Regions from separate parts of the Homo sapiens genome. Here region 1 is linked to region 2. The links are contacts of gene promoters, found by promoter capture Hi-C in human tissues and cell types (Jung and others, 2019). All regions are on one chromosome and are shown on one strand. Each heading gives the region's core, a stretch centred on a gene start or on the middle of the fragment in contact. The rest is flanking DNA. Distances are from core to core; before and after follow the strand shown. Region 1 overlaps UTRN (utrophin). Region 2 holds the start of UTRN (utrophin).

Evidence for each region. Contacts are between HindIII fragments. The study calls those that stand out against the background at their distance.
Region 1: a fragment that was not itself captured here is called in contact with the fragment with the promoter of UTRN in region 2 in 2 of the 25 tissues and cell types used here (hippocampus and spleen).

Annotation. Positions count from the first base shown.
Region 1 is chr6:144,704,852-144,707,551 of GRCh38, forward strand. The region is part of intron 53 of UTRN (utrophin); the gene reads left to right. Among named protein-coding and RNA genes, the nearest start is that of SNORA98, 300 kb to the left of the region's middle. The HindIII fragment of the contact is 4,616 bases long and covers 1-2,700 here.
Region 2 is chr6:144,284,065-144,286,764 of GRCh38, forward strand. UTRN (utrophin) reads left to right here and starts at 1,271. Exons shown (of 75, transcript NM_007124.3): 1 at 1,271-1,757. It overlaps LOC124901418, which reads left to right and starts at 2,434. Exons shown (of 1, transcript XM_047419641.1): 1 at 2,434-2,700. The coding sequence starts at 2,607. RefSeq lists an enhancer at 641-710 and silencers at 841-900, 1,111-1,210. The HindIII fragment of the contact is 2,482 bases long and covers 988-2,700 here.

The DNA of each region.
Region 1 (2,700 bases), core at 194-2,693, 420 kb after region 2:
TTTGGGAGGCTGAAGCAGGAGAATTGCTGGAACCCAGGAGGCAGAGGTTGCAGTGAGCCAAGATCACGCCACTGCACTCCAGCCTGGCGACACAGTGAGACTCCATCTCAAAAACAAACAAAAAAACCCAAAAACATGAATTCTTCATATTTTCTTTATAGGTTGTGACATTTGCTGTTGCTTTGTGAGTAAAGGTTTGAAAGTCCAGTGTCACATTTTTTAATGTGAGACACAAGATCTGTAATGTAGATAATCTACTGTGAATTGTGTGTGGCCATGGGTTTTAGGGTGCACTGGAGGCAGGTAAGGAGGGTTGTTGGCTCCTCATAGGTGTGATAATTTGGGTTAGAGGTGTGAGTGAGGTACTGGTAGTAGAAAAGGCACTGAGCTAGAATGAGAATACTTTTATTTAAAGGCTGGCTCTGTCACTGATGACCTGGGTGACCCTGAAAAAGTCATTTGACTTACCCAAGCTTCAGTGTATGGAAATAAGTAGTATCTTAGTTCCTTTGGGCTGCAGTAACAAAATACTATAAACTGGGTGGCTTATAAACAATAGAAATTTATTTCTTACAGTTCTGAAGGCGGAGAAGTTCAAGATCAGTGCACTAGTAGATTTGGTGTCTGCCAAGGGCCCACTGTCTGGTTCATGGATGATGTCATCTCACTGTGTCCTCCCATAGTGGAAGGTAGTCTTTTATATGATACTGATCCCATTGATGACAGCTCCTCACTCATGCCCTAATCACCTTCCAAAGACCCACCTCCCAATACCATCACTATGGGAGTTAGGATTTCAACCTGTAAATTTTGGTGACACATAGACATTCAAACTGTAGCAAGTAGTTCCATTTCTACACAGAATTGTTCTGACAATCAAATGAAATAGTGGAAATGAAAGTAATTTAGGAAAAGTAAAGTGCTGAAGGGCAGTATATAATTTTATTTAATTATGTATATTCTGTCAAAAGCAACCTTCTTTACCAATTGCCAAGAGTAATGTTTTAAAATTACGTTACTATAAATATTATATAAAATATATATAATTAACATTAATTCATACTAATATAAATCTACATTATTACAGTTAGGGCTAATGATTATGCATTTGTAGATTTAGAGCAATATTTAAAGAAGTGTGGTACCTACCCGTAATTATTTATCTTACTGAACATCATCAGTCATAATTATCGAATAGTCTAAGCATAGTTTAACCTTAGCCTTGCATCCAAGAATTCCCTTCCTAAGAGTTTATTTAATAGTTTTTGGCCAGTGTTCGAACATAAACCTAAGTCTCTAACTTATCCTGAGTCTTTTCTTGAAATCAAAATCTCTTATGGGTGTGTAAGAGATTGCTCTATATTTCAGGGCAGCTTTTTTTTTTTTTAAGTCCTTGAAAATGTCCTTTTCCTCTGCTGTCATATTCCATTGATCAGGAAAAGTCTTTATTTAGTGTATATTCATGTATAATTTAGAATTGTCAATTACTGGACTGAAAGAACCCTAAGAAATAAGAGTCCAGTCCTCTTATTTACGGTAGAGGAACATGAGAGGCACAGTGTAGTTTAAGCAAACCTGAGTTTTCATCCCTCCTTCCCTCTCTTACTTTCATTTACTTACTATATGCCTGGCAGTTTATTTTATTTTTTAAGGAAAAATAACTTTATTTTGAAAAAAAATCAATTCTCTATTTAAAGCATACATGAGACAGCATCTTTCATTTAGTCCTAAACTTGATTACGTATTCTCATTATAATATTCCAATGACATTCTGCAAATACATTTCAAGTATGTCATCATATACTTATTGGTAAATATCAAACAAAGCTACTGACTGTGAGGGAAAATTTTCCGTAATTTTTTTTACCTACCCAGAGATACTCATCCCACTGTATATCTGGGATTTTTATGAACATTTACAAATTTTAACAAAATTCTTTTTTTTCCCATTGCATGCATCAATATGCTAAATTCTCCACTACAATCCAGGTAAAATACTGATAGTGTGTGAAAACCCAGTGTATTTTCTAATACTGCCCATGATAGACAGAGTGAAATTACAGCATAAAGAGTAGCCAGGAACCTATACTGTAAACATTATTTGGCTCCAAGTATCTTGCAACAAATAGCTACTAATAGGACTATACATAGCACATAGAGCACAGCAATCCTGGATTGTAGTATGCCTGTAAAACCCTTTAAAGCATTTTTTCTCAACCTTTTTATCATTACCCTCCTTTTCAATTACAAAAATTAAATTCAAATTAAATTAAATAGCTTTAACTATAAATTTCTTCCTAATGAGAGAAATTAATACAAAAGATTTTGTTGGGTAGGCTGATTTTGGAAGGTCACAATCCATATCTAAGATTTTTTTCACCCCAAGAACCAATTTTTGTTCCCAGTTGAGAATGTAAGGGTTAAAGTTGATGAAATAAATTAAATAGCCTTTAACATTATTAGAGAGAAAAAAACCTAATGGGTAACAATGGAGATTGAGATAGTTGACTTCTAGACCATCTCTGTTCCATACTTGCTGTATGATCAGGGAAGAAATCATGTCTCTTTATTTTGTTGTTTGGGAGAACACAGGAATAGCATAAAACCTAATAGCTTGGAAAAATCACTTAATCTCACTGGACTCAGTGAGGCTATTAATTGAAAGAATTGGTATAGATCAGTTGTTTTCAATTCTGGCTG
Region 2 (2,700 bases), core at 21-2,520:
TTGGGAATCTCCTACCTGCCCCCTCCCTGGAGCACTTAGGGATGGATGGGGGAAACTTTCACTATAACAAAAGGCGAGTAAACTCTTTCTGAAAATTAGTTTAAGGCCCCTAGTGGTTTAATCTTTACTGCCGCGTAAATTAACTCAAATATTAAGCCAGCAATAAACCGGCGCTCCAGTATCAACCATCCTTTTCTCTGTTAATACGAACTAGGAACTCAGGTTGCTGTTTTCTTTCCCCTCCCACGTGTGCTGATCGTGTAAAAGAATCACAGGAACACACGAGCAATGAAATGTGTAAATAAGAAAAATGCACACACATCACGAGCTCATTTCTTCCCAGATATTTTTTGGTCAACCTCTCAAGCTTGGAACAGGCTCTATAACAGATGTGCGTTTGTGTGTGCATATTGGAAAACAGAAAAATAAGGTCAGCGCAAACACTACTTGTAATACAAACTAATGTAAGAGAAAACTTCTTTTTCAATATTAACAACGACACTAGAGAAATAATGTAAAATAAATATACGGTTGGAACTAGGGGTAAAAAAAAAATCAGCAACGTCAGCAAACTGAGATGGGGTGAGTTGGAAGGCAGATTGGAATTTATCTCTTAAAAAAATATCACCCTAACTAGAGACCTGTTTTGCCTAAGGGGACGTGACTCACATTTTCGGATAATCTGAATAAGGGGAATTGTGTCTGCTCGAGGCATCCATTCTGGTTCGGTCTCCGGACTCCCGGCTCCCGGCACGCACGGTTCACTCTGGAGCGCGCGCCCCAGGCCAGCCAAGCGCCGAGCCGGGCTGCTGCGGGCTGGGAGGGCGCGCAGGGCCGGCGCTGATTGACGGGGCGCGCAGTCAGGTGACTTGGGGCGCCAAGTTCCCGACGCGGTGGCCGCGGTGACCGCCGAGGCCCGGCAGACGCTGACCCGGGAACGTAGTGGGGCTGATCTTCCGGAACAAAGTTGCTGGGCCGGCGGCGGCGGGGCGAGAGCGCCGAGGGGGAGCCGGAGCGCTGCAGAGGCGCGGGCCGGAGGGCTGGCGCTGATCTGCACCCTTCTCATCTGGAGAGCGGACCCCTGGCTGCCCGGAGGCGAGCCCCTTCCCGGGGGGTGGGGGCGGCAACGCGCGACCCAGCGGTCCTGCGCCCCACCCTCCCTCCTCCGCCTCCAGCGCTCGGCTCCAACAAAGGGGCAGGCCCGCAGCGGGGAGGAGGAGGAGGAGCCGCCGAAGGAGCGAGCCTCTCTCGCGCACAAAGTTGTGGAGTCGTTTTTCCTCGGAGCAGGGAAGCGGGCAGCAGCAGCCGGCCGCGGGCTTTCTCCCGCCGAGGGGCGAGGAGGAGCCTCTGGCTCCAGAAGCCGATTGGGGAATCACGGGGAGCGGCGCCCCCCTTCTTTTGGGTCATTTCTGCAAACGGAAAACTCTGTAGCGTTTGGCAAAGTTGGTGCCTGCGCGCCCCTTCCAGGTTTGCGCTTTGACTGTTTTGTTTTTGGCGGAACTACCAGGCAGGAAGATTGCACAAGTAAGGGGCGTTTTCAGTCGGGTGTCAATTTCTCTTTCTTTCTTTCTTTTTTTAAAATTTCGGTTCGTGTCTGCTTCTCCAAGCTTTATTTTTTTTTTTAAATACATCGCACCACCAAACTAACACTCGCACACACCCCCGCGGTTACTCCGTGTCAAACTCCTAGAGGAGCCCTTGGCCAGCTCGGGGTGCGGCGGTGGCGACCGGCAGGCGAGGAGGCCCGCGGGCAGCAGGTAAGCCCATGCATTATTGAAGCCTCGGGCTGGTAATGTGACTACAGCCCCCGAGGGAATGGGGCGGGGGCCGGGAGGAGGATGGCTCTTTCTGTGGTTCTTCCGCCTGGGATCGGCGTCCCGAGCTGCTTCCCAAGTCCCAGAGTCGAAGATGGGAGTAACTTTTGCGTGCCCTTTCCTCGGGGCCTCAGTTTAGCTCCCCGCGGTGCGAGAGAGAATGCCGGAGGCGTGGAGAGCTCGGGCGTGGAGGTCCTTGGGATCCGTACTAGTTGTGAACGATCCAAACTTATCTGACCAGCTCTGTGCTGCCTCCCTGCTCCCCTAATCTTCCTCCCCGCCGGGGTGACAGAGTCGCCCTCCGTGCATCGCGCGGTGCAGGGCGCTGGGCCAGTGATTTGCAAGAGGGGACGTGGCCTCTTAGGAGAGTCTGTCACAGACACCCGGGCCCGGGGAAGGCGGGGCTCCGGCGGTGTCCACAGGAGAGGGTGGGCAGAGGGTGGCTGTGTGGTCGGCGGCCAGCGGAGCGCTTCCCAGCCAGCCGCCCGGCGGGGAACGTGCTTGACCTCTGGGTGGTTGCTGCTCCCAAGGGTGGGGCTCCGGAGAGTGTGGCGCGATCGCCAAGCTCCCTGGCAGCGGCCCTGGAGAGACTGAGGGGACAGGAGGAGGGGGGCGCCCCATTGGTGTGTAGTCCCGCGCAGTCGCCGGCTCTCCTTTTCCGGACTCTGGGGATCTCTTGCTGCAACTGACAAGGTAATTCATGCCCCGCTTTGGCCCGGGGTCCGAGGCTGTGGTTGCTCAAGGCCACTTAAAAACCAACAAAGCACCAATTGAAGGCTGTGCAACTTTCAGATGGCAGGTTGTTCAAAGGATTTTTTCCTCCAAGCCTCAGATTATGAAAGGGACTCATTCCAGTGCGTTTTTCGAGGAGGAGGGAGAAAACGTT